Linked DNA regions of Homo sapiens: all the other regions are linked to region 1. The links are contacts of gene promoters, found by promoter capture Hi-C in blood cells and fetal thymus (Javierre and others, 2016). All regions are on one chromosome and are shown on one strand. Each heading gives the region's core, a stretch centred on a gene start or on the middle of the fragment in contact. The rest is flanking DNA. Distances are from core to core; before and after follow the strand shown.

Evidence for each region. Contacts are between HindIII fragments. The CHiCAGO score rates a contact against its expected background, and 5 or more counts as called.
Region 2: a fragment that was not itself captured here is called in contact with the fragment with the promoter of FKBP3 in region 1 in 4 of 17 cell types (total B cells, naive CD4 T cells, total CD4 T cells and 1 more); the score reaches 8.3 in total B cells.
Region 3: a contact is called between a fragment that was not itself captured here and the fragment with the promoter of FKBP3 in region 1, in 1 of 17 cell types (non-activated CD4 T cells). The highest score is 5.9, in non-activated CD4 T cells.

The regions. Positions count from the first base shown.
Region 1 is chr14:45,131,887-45,136,563 of GRCh38, reverse strand. FKBP3 (FKBP prolyl isomerase 3) reads left to right here and starts at 2,083. Exons shown (of 7, transcript NM_002013.4): 1 at 2,083-2,215. The coding sequence starts at 2,108. It overlaps FANCM (FA complementation group M), which reads right to left and starts at 634. Exons shown (of 23, transcript NM_020937.4): 1 at 25-634. The coding sequence starts at 532. RefSeq lists enhancers at 431-480, 1,143-2,013, 2,107-2,326, 2,014-2,885 and a silencer at 1,960-2,137. The HindIII fragment of the contact is 3,907 bases long and covers 1-3,392 here.
Region 2 is chr14:44,866,912-44,871,964 of GRCh38, reverse strand. No RefSeq gene overlaps it. Among named protein-coding and RNA genes, the nearest start is that of DORIP1, 28 kb to the left of the region's middle. The HindIII fragment of the contact is 1,478 bases long and covers 2,651-4,128 here.
Region 3 is chr14:44,826,016-44,830,883 of GRCh38, reverse strand. No RefSeq gene overlaps it. Among named protein-coding and RNA genes, the nearest start is that of LINC02302, 29 kb to the right of the region's middle. The HindIII fragment of the contact is 2,175 bases long and covers 1,004-3,178 here.

The sequences.
Region 1 (4,677 bases), core at 834-3,333:
CAAAATTAGTCCAGTCTAAGATACCTGTCATTTCGGCCATGTGGGATTGCGGGATACCCATCACCTGGTAGCAAGCCTCGATCTGCTGTGTCACCAAGGGTTTCGTTGGGGCCATGAAGACCACCTTTCCTGAAGGGAACCAGCGGTAGAAATTGTACATGACCACGGCGGCAATAAAGGTCTTTCCCAGTCCGGTAGGCAGACACACCAGCGTATTGCAAAACAGAGCAGCCCGGGAAATGTGCAGCTGGTAGTCCCGCACTGGGCAATTGGTAGGGTAAATCCACAGGGCGCCCGCGGAGGTGCAGAACCCGCCATTCTCTAGACACAACTGCCGCTCAGCCTCGTACGCCGCGACAAGCAACACATCATCGTCCGACTCCAGCTGAGCCTCCGCTGCTGCTGGCAAAGGCGCCTTGGAGCTGCCAGGGCTCTGAGGTCGCTCAGTTCCGGAGCTGCAACCCGGAGTCCCAGATGATCGGGAGATACTTGAGCCCCACGTCTGAAAAAGCGTTCTTTGCCGTCCGCTCATTAGGCCGACAACCACCGAAGGCTTCTGTCAGATATCCGTAGCAGCAGCAGCTCAACCGCTACGGTTCCGATCCCCATCGGTTTCCTTCGCACAAAACTCTGGAACGAGAAGGCGGGACTAAGGCCAGTTTATCCAGTTGAAAATGCCGCTACTGAGTTTCCGTTGGGAATGATTGGCTGGCTTCCCGGAAACCTTCACAGCCCTGCCGGAGACTCATGCGCATTATTAAGGCGTTACTCTAAATATGGTCCCCGGTGCGGTTCCGGTGTTTTGTTTTAACAAACTCTAAATTTAAGTTCCGTTTCCAATGATTAGATGGCTGGGCGTCATTGCTAACGTGATAAATCACTTAAAATGTTATAATAGAGATTTATTGTAAAATATTACATACCCGGGGACAATGGAATAGCCACCAGTTTGGGAACTTAATGTTATTGAGCGTCTAACGTGCCTCATTCCTTGTACTTTTAAATCAGAATATAAAGTGAAAAGCAAAAATGTGTAGATGGAATAATTTGTCTTATATCTCTATCTGGGCTGAGAAAACAAAATGCCAAGTCTCTTTTTCACCGCGCTGGGAGTGGCAACCCATTATTTTAATATTTTCATTGTTTAAAGGGAAGTGAACGTGGTCTGGTCCAGCTATTCGTCAGAATTTTTTTTTTTAATGCTCCTTGCAAAGCAGAGCTAACTCATAGGCAACATGCCCAGAGTCAGCCTACATTTTTTTAAGTAAGGAGTCCTGATGTTCAACTATTAAATCTTTATTATAGGTAAGAGCATTATAATAAACGTCGGTGTGCAATTATTCCACTCTAACGAAGATTTCTGTCTCAAATAATTCCTGACTTCTCTCTAAACCTGACTTTGAGTAACCTCTGTAAATTTGTTTCCTCGTGTACTGAGAAAAAAATATACATCACAGAGTTACGAGCATTAATAATGTCATTCTCATCAGCAAGTGGCATCCTGAGTGCGGCTTCTTTATAAATTGTTTTATTTGTTAAAGTTTCTGAACTTCGTTTTGGACAAACTTTCTCGTATTTGTATGGGGGGAAGGGGATGGGCAGTTTGTATTTAAGTTTCGGTTGTGTGATCTTTAAAAGGGAAATGGTGGGATATGGGTTTTCGGATCGACAAGGACTGAAGCACTTCAGGTGTGACTTTTTAGGCTAGAACTAGATAAAACGAGATAAGGAGCCTGAATGCTGTTTTCTTTTAACAGGTTATAGACTGGACTTTAAAGGCATAGCTGCCTTAAATGTGGGTAATGGTTGATAAATGTCGCTACCATCAGAGGTCGCTTCACAAGGTGTCTAATTCAGAATCGAAGATCTCTAGCGGTCTTCTACTCAGTCGACTGCAGAGACGACCGCGGTAGGTTTTTCAACCCGGACTCAACAAAGAAGCCCTCATAGCACAGCCTTGACGTCACTCAAAGACAGGCCCCAATCCCGACTGCTAGAGCAGAGGCCCGCCCCTCGACCTCCGTGAGTGGCCCCGCCCCGCCCTAGGGGGCGGGGCGATGCCGAACTGCGGCGGGCTGGCTCAGTAAAGCGGAGGCAGCGGGGGAAGATGGCGGCGGCCGTTCCACAGCGGGCGTGGACCGTGGAGCAGCTGCGCAGTGAGCAGCTGCCCAAGAAGGACATTATCAAGTTTCTGCAGGAACACGGTTCAGATTCGGTACCAGAGGCGTAGGGGCGGCCGGGCTGGTGCGGCTGAGGGACGCCTCACCCCCCTGGAGATGCCCATACATTCCGTATTCCTCTGTGCCCCCGCCCTCGTCTTCCCGCGGCCGGTGGCCTGGAAGGCCGGAGAGGCCCAGCTTGTGCTTTGGTGCCTCGCTCCCGCCTCTCGGGCGTTCTCTACTGGGGCAGGGGAGCAGCTTTATTTCTTGGGGCACACAGGCTGCAATTGTAGAGTTAGAACCTCATTGGGATCCTTGAGTGGGGGTGGAGGCCAGAAAAATAGGAACCCGAGGATATTGGGGGCTAGGGCGGAGAGGCCGAGGAATAGTGGTGTGGATGAGACTCCTGGGAGCGGGGCGCCGGCTACTAGGGAAATGGGAAGGGATGTGAAGATTTCTGTGGGAACGGTGTATCCAACTTGCTTTTCTCAACAGTTTACTAAATACTGAACATTAATGCGTGTGATTTTTAAAAAATCCGTAGGTTGTGGTTTAAGTTTTGATTTAACATATCGACCCTTTAAATGACCTTTTCACCTTTATACTTTAAGGGAGCTACATGCACATTTCTCTTGTGCAGTGGTCTGTCATTGTTATAAACAGACTAAGAAATTTATTTGAAATGCTTTATACTGTAGGCTCTCCATTTGTCAGCATAGTCTCCATCTTAACCATCCGTCTATAGTCAAGTTATTTTTGTTACACTTGTTTTTCCTTTGGAAAATAAGTTCATTCATGCACCTGTTAAATTGCTGAAATAGTTGTGCACGCAGCATTCTCTTACAAGCGGCAGCCTGCTTGTGTTTTCTATACAATTTTTAAAATTCTAAACTTTTCATTTAGAAAAACTGTTTCTGGGTTTTTTTGTTTGTTTGTTTGAGACGGAGTCTCTCTCTGTTGCCCAGGCTGGAGTGCAGTGGCGCGATCTCGGCTCACTGCAACCTCCGCCTCCCGGGTTCAAACGATTCTCCTGCCTCTGCCTCTCGAGTAGCTAGGACTACAGGCGCGTGCCACCACGCCAGGTTAATTTTTTGTATTTTTAATAGAGACGGGATTTCACCGTGTTAGTCAGGATGGTCTCGATCTCCTGACCTCGTGATCCGCCCGCCTCGGCCTCCCAAAGTGCTGGGATTACAGGCGTGAGCCACTATTTCTGGGTTATTTTGAGAAGCTTATATTTTATTTTCATTTTGGGCGGGCGTCATGACAGGGAGATAGAAGAACTCTCCAACTTCCAGTGCCTTCTTCCTTAATTATTATCCTGGCATCCGCATCTTAGATTAATTTAGCAGATATTAATACAACATCTGTAACAAGAACTATTCTCAGTGTTTGGAGGTACAAGGGTGAAAAAGAACATGTGTCGGGGATCTTACCCCATTTTAATGGAACTATTTTCTCTTAAGCCAATTCGTATTTCATCTGAAACAATAGAATAGACATCATTAACATTTAATAATACCTCAGTCATGTACTTCATCCATCATATTCTTATGAAACAAATCATGCCATGTGGAATCGTATGTAAAACTGGGCCACGTGGAAGAATTTCAACAGACTTGGATTATCAAAATGTTTTTATAACATTAATCTTTTAAATGCATAGTCTCGGTCGGTCGTGGTGGCTCATTCCTGTAATCCTAGCACTTTCGGAGGCCAAAGCGGGCGGATCACGAGGTCAGGAGATCGAGACCATCCTGACTAACAGTTGAGGCCAGGCATTGAGGACCAGCCTGGCCAACGTAGCGAAACCTCATTTCTACTAAAAATACAAAAAAAATTAGCTGGGCCTGGTGGTGGGCGCCTCTAATCCCAGCTGTTCGGGAGGCTGAGGCAGGAGAATCGTTTCAACCCAAGAGGGGGAGGTTGCAGTGGGCCGAGATTGGGCCACTGCACTCCAGCCTGGGCGACAGAGCTAGACTCTGTCTCAAAAATTAATAATAATAATCTCCGGTGATCATTAACACTTAGACCTATACTTGACAATAATTATTTTATTAATCATAAGATATCAAAGAGATGTTTATGCTTTTATGCTTTGGGTATTTTCTGGAATCTTTAACAAGAAACCACCAGCATGCTAAAGGTAACTGATTACTTCCGTTTAGTCAACTTTGTCTCCTTTCCCCATCAGCTGTTATTTAGAACATATCTTTGAAAGAAAAAGCAAAAGAAAAAAATACAATAGTGATAGTGTTAGCTGTTAACTGCTAATAATGTTAACTGCTTTATCAAAAGCTTAGAAGATGCCAAAGGACAACTTTGAGAATGTAACAAAATTAGGAATTAAGCAAGGACCACAAGGCAGAAAAAGAAGCAGAATAAAATAAGGAAACAAAGAAGTTATGGAAATCCTCACAATTACGTGATTTTCAGATAAAGTTATACTACGACTTGCTATTTCAGCAGTAGTATTTTAGTGTCCATCTGCCATCTTAGCAGTCTTATATTTGAAAGA
Region 2 (5,053 bases), core at 2,140-4,639, 270 kb after region 1:
AAAATGGCCATACTGCCCAAGGTAATTTATAGATTCAATGCCATCCCCATCAAGCTACCAATGACTTTCTTCACAGAATTGGAAAAAACTACTTTAAAGTTCATATGGGACCAAAAAAGAGCCTGCATAGCCAAGTCAATCCTAAGCAAAAAGAACAAAGCTGGAGGCATCATGCTACCCAACTTCAAACTATACTACAAGGCTACAGTAACCAAAACATCATGGTACTGGTACCAAAACAGATATGTAGACCAATGGAACAGAACAGAGGCCTCACAAATAACACCACATATCTACAACCATCTGATCTTTGACAAACCTGACAAACATAAGCAATGGGGAAAGGATTCCCTATTTAATAAATGGTGCTGGGAAAACTAGCTAGCTGTATGCTGAAACTGGATCCCTTCCTTACACCTTATATAAAAATTAACTCAAGATGGATTAAAGACTCAAATGTCAGACCTAAAACCATAAAAACCCTAGAAGAAAACCTAGGCAATACCATTCAGGACATAGGTATGGGCAAAGGCTTCATGACTGAAACACCAAAAGCAATGGTAACAACAGCCAGAATAAACAAATGGGATCTAATTAAACTAAAGAGCTTCTGCACAGCAGAAGAAACTATCATCAGAGTGAACAGGCCACTTACAGAATGGGAGAAAATTTTTACAATCTATCCATCTGACAAAGGGCTAATATCCAGAATATACAAAGAACTTAAACAAATTTACAAGAAAAAAACATACAACCTTATCAAAAAGTGGGCAAAGGATATGAATAGACACTTCTCAAAAGAAGACATTTATGTATCCAACAAACTTATGAAAAAATGCTCATCATCACTGATCATTAGAGAAATGCAAATCAAAACCACAATGAGATACCATCTCACACCAGTTAGAATGGCAATCATTAAAAAGTCAGGGAACAACAGGTGCTGGAGAAGATGTGGAGAAATAGGAATGCTTTTACACTGTTGGTGGGAGTGCAAATTTGTTCAACCATAGTGGAAGACAGCGTGGTGACTCCTCAAGGATCTAGAACTAGAAATACCATTTGACCCAGTAATCCCATTACTGCGTTTATACCCAAAGGATTATAAATCATTGTACTATAAAGGCACATGCACAGGTATGTTTGTTGCAGCACTATTCACAATAGCAAAGTCTTGGAACCAACCCAAATGCCCATCAATGATAGACTGGATAAAGAAAATGTGGCACATATACACCATGGAGTACTATGCAGCCATAAAAAAGGATGAGTTCATGTCCTTTTCAGGGACATGGATGAAACTGGAAACCATCATTCTCAGCAAGGTAACACAAGAACAGAAAACAAAACACCGTGTGTTCTCACTCATAAGTGGGAGTTGAACAGTGAAAGCACATGGACACAGGGAGGGGAACATCACACACCGGGGCCTGTCGGGGTGGCGAAAGGATAGCATTAGGAGAAATACCTAGTGTAAATAATGAGTTAATGGGTGCAGCAAACCAACATGGCACATGTGTACCTATGTAACAAACCTGCACGTTGTGCACATGTACCCCAGAACTTAAAGTACAAAAAAAAAAAAAAAAAAGAAAACCACAGTGAGATAGCTCTTTACACCTATCAGAGTCACTGAAGTAAAAAATAATGACAACAACAACAACAACAAAATCTCTTCCTAATGATTGTTCTTTTATGAGCAACCACTGATGGAGTCATATCTCACATAGAGTATAGTCTTTCCCAAAAGCATTTTATAGACCAGGGGACAGTGCCAGGTTGAGATACAACCAACTGGTTACAGGGTAAGATTCTTTTCCCAGAACCCAGCACCTGGTACAGCTGGATTCTAAGATACACAGATAGGTCCAGCCTGAGACACATGAGCCAAGACCACTTTATGGAGGGCCCCAATACTGTACTTTTATCCCCAAATGCAAATATAAAAACTTCTGACCTATTTCAGCTATTTTTTTTTTTTTTTTGAGACGGAGTCTTGCTGGGTTGCCCAGGCTGGAGTGCAGTGGTGCGATCTTGGCTCACTGCAAGCTCCGCCCCTTGGGTTCACACCATTCTCCTGCCTCAGCCTCCCAAGTAGCTGGGACTACAGGTGCCCACCGCCACACCCGGCTAATTTTTTTGTGTTTTTAGTAGAGACAGGGTTTCACTGTATTAGCCAGGATGGTCTCAATCTTCTGACCTCGTGATCCACTTGCCTCGGCCTCCCAAAGTGCTGGGATTATAGGTGTGAGCCACCGCACCTGGCCTATTGGAGCTAAATTTTTAACAGGGGTTTTGTAGGACTCGACACATGTTGCGCAGTACAGCAAAACTCAAAGTGCAAGCTTGCCAGCAAGCAGAGGAAATATCCTACATGCTAGGTGCAGTGGTTTGTACCCAGTTAAGACAAGAACAAGAGAAGGAAGATCCCTAGTGGTGGTGGTCAACATTGATACAGTCTGGCTCACAGCATCAACTTTTGTGACTACTCCATAGGTACAGGCTAGATTACCACTCAAAATTTGATTTAGATGTCAAGACTGATGATCACACACACACATACACACACACACACACACACACACCTCAACAGTGTGAAAAAGTTTTATTATGAGGATTTTGGATGAAAGCAGGGAAGGCTTCTCAAGCTTGTCTGAAAATGGATTGAAAGGCAAGGAAAGGAGACTGGCTAGAGATTTCTATTGTGGGGGATTGGGCCAGGGCGAGGGTTCCTGCAGACAAACAGGAGCTTATGTGTTTCAATTTCAATCCCCTGATGACACTAAAGGTGACAGCATCTGAGCTTTATCAGCTTTCCCAGACATGTGGAAGAAGGGAAGAGTCATGGATAGGCTTAAAAGTTATTTGCAGTCGAACATCAAAAAATGGAATTAGACTCTATTACATTTTAGCTCTCAAATTTAGGTCTTTGATCTTTTTGAGTTAATTTTCTATATAGTGTGAGATAGGAGTACAATTTTATTCTTTTGCATGTGGATATCCATTTGTCCCAGCACCATTTTTTGAAGAGAATATTCTTTCAATTTAACTGAAAAGCCCAGCAACAGGGAGTATCATTTGCTTGCCCAAGCATTAATAATGCGGTATTTTATTTCTTATTTGGCTATGAGTCCTATGTGCATTGGTACTCATAGCCTGTGCATAACCTCACTCATAGCCTTGAAAACCTAGGGCAGATATCCTGCAGAAAAACCCATTGCTTATTTGCTTATCTGGAGTTTTAAGCATGGATTTTAAGCTACTGAGTTTTATCTATTCTTGAGATTCTACAATTCACCTTAGGCTCATCTTGGTAAAAACTGATTCTGGAATTTTGCCTGAGGCTGCTGAATGTCGTGGATGATCCTTTGAGTTTTGCAGTTTCTCCTTTTCCCAGTTATTTCCCCTAGAAACTACTGGGCAGATCACTTACCAGGTCCTGGCTCTTTCTCCTTCCTATGTTGCTGCAGATGGACCTTCCTACCTGTGCTCCAATTTTAAACAATACTGTCAATAGATAACATTTACCAAATACCACACTGAACTAAGAACTTCTAACATGTGGACTAAATGCCAACCACTGTGGGGGCCTGATTCCTGAATATCCATATAATGTTGTCTCAAATCTTTATTTTACTTCCTGTGGAAACACAAAGTGGTTCCCATGATTGCAGATCCTTGTGGTTCTTTATATTCCTCTACACTGTCTGCTGAATTAGAACGATTTATGGATTATCTTGCTATTTCACATGTGTTCTTTCCTTCATGACAGTTACCCAGGGGTGACTCAACTGCTCACTCTCACTGTCATTTTTATGTGTAGTTGAGTTTACTCAAAAATTGGGATGGGTTCAGAGGGATTTATATGTTAGCAATGCAAAAAGCTCTAATTAAACACTGGACATTCTCATTTCCTAGAAGACCTTTGACAACCTCAGATCTATGAATTTTTTTCTAAAACTTTTTGTTTGGAGATAATTTCCAACTTATAGGAAAGTTGCAAAAATATTACAAAGTGTTCCTGTGCATCTATGGTTTGCCAAGTCCAGCGGGTGCCTGCAATGATTGGTTATAAATTTGTTATTTTTCTAAGCCACATTTCCTTCTTTAGGAACAGGGTTCTAAGCTTAAGTCCAGAGTAATGAGAACATATTTAAGATTAAACATTCTATTTAAAGTAGGTTAACGGAGTAGGAAGGCATCACAGCCCATCTTTCCCTGGATTTGTCTTATCCAGAATGTGCAGTTTTGCTTCTAATAGATTTCTCCACTTTTATCCTTGGAGTGAATTGAATCATCTAAGGAGGAGAGGGTACAGAGGTGAGAGGAGAAATGCTGGGACTATATACCTCCTCTTCTGTTCATTGATGGTAGAGAACTCCTAGCCTGGTGATATATCCCAATTACTCCCTGATTAATGAATCTTCTGGGATTGATGGGTAAAGAACTAACAGTTTTTTGAGAACCTGGCAGTCACTGAATTATAGATTCTATGTTTGAAAATGTAGACAGACTGGAGATCTTTTGTATGAAGTCTCTATTTAAAAAGAACCTCAAGTCCAGAGCTCTATCTGAAAAAAACAGTTGTTCCTCTGCTGTCTTGGGTATTAGAGGAGCTGACATCAGCAAGATGGCAGAATATGAGTTTCTGGCACTCATCCCCTTGAAGAAACATCAATTTGAACAACCACGCATGTACAAAAATACCTTTGTAAGAGCCAAGGAATCCAGATGAGAGATTACAGCACCTGGGTAGAGCACGGATATAAGAAAAGGCATATTTAAGAGGGTAGGAAGGACAGTTTCATGTTGCCAGCATCACTGCTCCCCCAAACCTAAACAGTGCAGTGCAGAAAGAGACCCATCACATGAGGGAAAGAGAGTGTAGTGAGCAGACTTCACTGTGGATCCCAGCACCAGGTCTGGTCCAGTGAACACGGGCACAAGGCCAGCCCCTATGGTCTCAGGCTTCAGGTCAGTCCCTGCAGCCCCAGACCCAAGGCCTGCTCCAGCATCAGGCTGGCATCTGTGGTCCCAAACTCTAGGCCCATTC
Region 3 (4,868 bases), core at 842-3,341, 310 kb after region 1:
AAGGGGGACACTCAGAAAGAACAATGGCAGTACAAGACCCTGGGGTCCATTTTGAACCATTGCATTGTCACAACGCAGACTAGTAGTAGGTTAGGGTTTTGGGTCACTGCTTATTCTCAGCAGATTTTATGACATTCATTAAAATCCTGGCTTGAATCTCCTTCATTGCAGCACAAACAATATTCTAAGTAGCTTTCCTAAAAATCCCACTGCTCATAGCAGCGAGAATGCTTCTTAATTTAAGGACTGTATTTTGGATCAGTGTCCAGCCATTGGTTCCATTGGGGTTTTGACAAGACTATTTCTGGGAAAAGCCTACCATATTATTGTCTCAGCTGCTACAGACATTATGAAGTTATAACAATATTAATAGCATTTTACAGACTTCTTGTTTGTAGACTAGGGGAGATATGTTAGCCTTTGCAGAGGAGGGGAGGAAATTGAAAAGATGAGTCAGAGCCAGATGAGAAAAGGGTTGGGATGCAATGACAAGAAATTTTGACTTTATGTAGGATTATTCAGAGAAGAAAAGAGGAGGAAGTGAAATGCTAAGACTGATTTTTTTTTTAAAAGATAGATTTGATAGCATGAGAAGAATGGATTTGAAAGGCGATAATGGAAAGGATGCAGAGGCACCAATTTGGAATTTACTGTGATGTTTTAGGCAATAGATGGTAAGAGCAATCACATTCTCATTCCTGGGGCACCCATTTTCTGATATCCTTTTGAGACCATCTGTTCCTAACATTCCCTAGCACTTCCAATTCGAAAACAACAAAATTCTGGAAGGCTTTAGCTGGAAGTACCATCTGATTTTTAGATTTATGCTATTTTTTAAGATGTTTCCTAAAATGCCTGGCAAAAATAGGTGCTCAGTGTTTGCTAAATTAAAAAAAATTGACTTCTATAAACAAAGTGCTTACTTTCTCTCTCTTTCTCTTTGGTTGTTGTTTATGGAAAGACAAAAAAGTACCTTGTAGTATACTCAAGAAGAAAGAAAGCTTGTCAAGGCTCCAGTCTATAAGGGGTAAAAAAAAAATGCCTTTGTTTTTGCTTGCTGTAGGTTTTAGCATCTTGTCTATAATGGCCATGTACCACCTTCAGGTCCAGGGAAGGGAAGAGTAGTGTGCTGTGCAAGAGGCAGATTTGCTGAGAGCTGTTCAGGCACACCTGGAATCATATTCAATTCAGGCTAAAGCAGTATATTTCACACCATTCGCAGGTCAGTGTGTGGCAAAAAAAGCATAGCTTCTCTCTTTTATTTTATTTTTTATTTTAAGTTGCAGGGTACATGTGCAAGATGTGCAGGTTTGTTACATAGGTAAATATGTGTCATGGTGATTTGTTGCACCTATCGACCCATCACCTAGGTATTAAGCCCAGCATGCATTAGCTATTTTTCCTGAGAATATAGCTTCTCTGTTTTATGTAACTTGTTTGAAGGCCTGAGGCCAACCCTGAGATTTGGCAGAAATGTCTGCTTCAGGACCCTCTAATTTTAAAAGGTATTCTTCGTACTGGGCAGTGCTTATTGCAGGCTTAGTATTCCAGCTTTTCCCTGGTGCTCTTGGCTGGGTCTGTGTGCAAATGCCACTGCTGCACTGGATTAAGGTCTGCTGAAGGGTGCCTACTGTCTCTTTATAAAGAGATTGTAGATGCCTATGAGGATCTGGTCTCCCATTTCAAAGGGTCTATTGTTCTTTTACATCTTTCCTTCTTACTTTCCATCCCTGAATGTGAGCTTGAATGTGTCTCCTTTGGTCATCCTTAGATTTTGTCTGTCTTAGTCCATCTGGGTTGCTATAACAGAATATCATAGATTGGGTGGTTTAACAACAACAAATACTTATTTCTCACAGTTCTGGAGACTGGGAAATCCAAGATCAAGGCACTGGATGATTCTGTGTCTGCTGAGGGCACCCTTGCTGGTTTATAGATTCCTGTCTTATCACTGTATTCTCACATGACAGAAAGGGCAAGGGAGCTCTCTTGGGGTCTCTTTTATAAAGGCATTAATCCTATTCATGAGTTCTCTGCTCTCATGACTTAATCACCTCCCAAAGGCCTTGCTTCCAAATACCGTCATATTAGGGATTAGGTTTCAACATACAAATTTTAGAGGGACACACACATTCAGTTTGTAGCAGACTAATTAATCCTGTATTGGGTATTGTGGGAAAGAAGGACCTGTGCCCCAATTTTGAACTTTCGTGGGCCTTGGGAAGTTGTCGTTTTGTTTCTCTGCTTCACCACCTTGATTCACCTTAGTTTTTGTGTCTTTTGCTATGTAAACTAAGAACCTAATTTTATGGAGTAAAATCATTTACATCAGCTCCACAAAGGTTAGAAGAGTATTGCAAAGCATAACCTTGACAGCTTTGCCCACATTTTTGGCTGCACTTTGGAAACTGGAAGGGATTCCAACTGAAGAGCCTCCAAATGTCAGTTCCTCGCTCAATATCCTAATCCATTTTCTCTAGTCCTGTGACAAGACCCAATTTCTAGTCTGTATCTCTTGGTCCTGCTCCTAGGTGCCATTTTTTTTCCCTCTCATATTTATATTGAAGTGCTCCAATAGCTGTCTTATAAGCTGCTTGCATGAGATTGCACTGCTCTGGCTCTTTAACGCATTCTCTGAAACAGAGGTCATTGAGTATAACATCAGGAAATAGAAAGTGAAGTCAGTGGCTTCATTCTTAGTGGCAGCATATGTGTGATGGGAAAGCATTTCAGGGTATTAATCTATGCACCCAAGGGATCATCCATCAAATTATTTCACTTGTGACCTAAAGATCTTTTTCCTCCCCTGGTCCTCTCAGACAGACATGGGTCACCCAGAAACACAGTCTGTAAACACATCATTATTAGGCTAAAGAAAAGTTGATGGCCTAAGCAGGAATGATTTGAAAGCACACTTTCAGAGTTTTTCTACTTTTGGTTAAATGATGCCTTGGGTGGAAAAGAGTAGGAGAAGAAGGGCAGGATCTATGCAGATATTAGTGTACACTGGGGTGGTGTTTCTGAGGCAGGACCAAATGGTTTACAGTCCATTCATTAGCATGTATTCAAAATACTCAATGACTTATTCCATTCGTTCATGATATTTGAACTCCATTCACATATGAAGCAAGGATGACTTTTTGGTTTTACGTAGTTCATGGCTGCTAAGAATAAAGCTTAGGCGGGTAGTAGCTCAGGCTGTCAGTCATACTGCCTTACCTTGGGTCCCCAAGATTGGAAACATTCCAACTTGTTTCCCCTTGAGCATTCTAAATTGTTTCCCTTTTGTTGCTGAGTATAGTATAAATTGCCAAGGGTAGAGCTGGCACAGAGATTATTTACATTTCTGTTGTTACATCTATTTGATAAATTCTTTCATACTATTCTTTGCTGGTTTAAATTTATACATTTCTAACTTAATTTATTATAATTCTCTTATAATAATGTGTAGGAATGTAGGGGTGATTATTACCATAACTCTGTAATTCAGCTCTCTTAAGCTATTGCTAGTGAAGCCAATTTAAAGAATGATAGAAAGATGTGTTACATTAACTTTACCTATAATTATCTTCTTTTTTTTTTTGACTGAGTCTCGCTCTGTCGCCCAGGCTGGAGTGCAGTGGTGCAATCTCGGCTCACTGCAAACTCTGCCTCCCAGGTTCACGCCCTTCTCCTGCCTCAGCCTCCTAGTAGCTGGGATTACAAGCCCCTGCCACCACGTCCACCTAATTTTTTTGTATTGTTAGTAGAGATGGGGTTTCACCATATTGGCCAGGCTGGTCTCAACTCCTGACCTCAGGTGAGGTCTCCCAAAGTGCTAGGATTACAGGCATGAGCCACTGTGCCCGGCCTCTTTCTAAAAATATTTAAAGAGATAAGATCTTTACTTGGAGTAGTAACTGTGGAAGCGTCATTCGGGGAATAGTAATTTCATTCCTAGGACTTAAATAACCCAGATAATCTCACAAATTTTTCTCCAAATTTGTAAATAATATAGTAGAATAAACATTTAAATTAGCCCAGATTACTACAAGTGAAATAATAGCTTTACGTTTTCTTTGGGTCAACCAGTGGGGAATCTTTACCATTGCTAACACTTTGTTTTGTACCTGGATTAATACCAGGGGTGGTGGTGGAGGTGAAACAATCTATTTATTTCTAAGCAAAACCAAAAAGCAATATGACCATCTAAGGTAGAATTTAAGAACTTGTTGAGGCTTGTTTTATTGATCCAGTCTGAAGAATCTTAGGCCACAGTTCTGGAGTGCCTTTTTAAGTTCTGGGATACATGTGCAGGATGTGCAGGTTTGTTACATGGGTAAACATGTGCCATGATGGTTTGCTGCATCTATCAACCTATCACCTAGTTATTAAGCCCCACATGCATTAGCTATTTATCCTGATACTCTCCCTCCCCCTGTACCCCTGACAAGCCCCAGTTTGTGTTGTTTCTCTCCGTGTCCATGTGTTCTCATTGTACAGCTACCATGAGAACATGTGGTGTTTAGTTTTCTGTTCCTGTGTTAGTTTGCTGAGAATAATGGCTTTCAGCTCCATCCATGTCCTTGCAAAGGACATAATCTTGTTCCTTTTTATGGCTGCATAGTATTCCATGGTGTATATGTACCACATTTTCTTTATCCAGTCTACCATTGATGGGCATTTGGGTTGATTCCATGTCTTTGCTATTGTGAATAGTTCTGCAGTGAAGATACGCATCCATGTATCTTTATAATAGAATGATTTATATTTCTTTGGGTATATGCCCAGGAATGAGATTGCTGGGTCAAATGGTATTTCTGGTTCTAGATCTCTGAGGAATCGCCACACTGTCTTCCACAATTGTTGAACTAATTTACATTCCCACC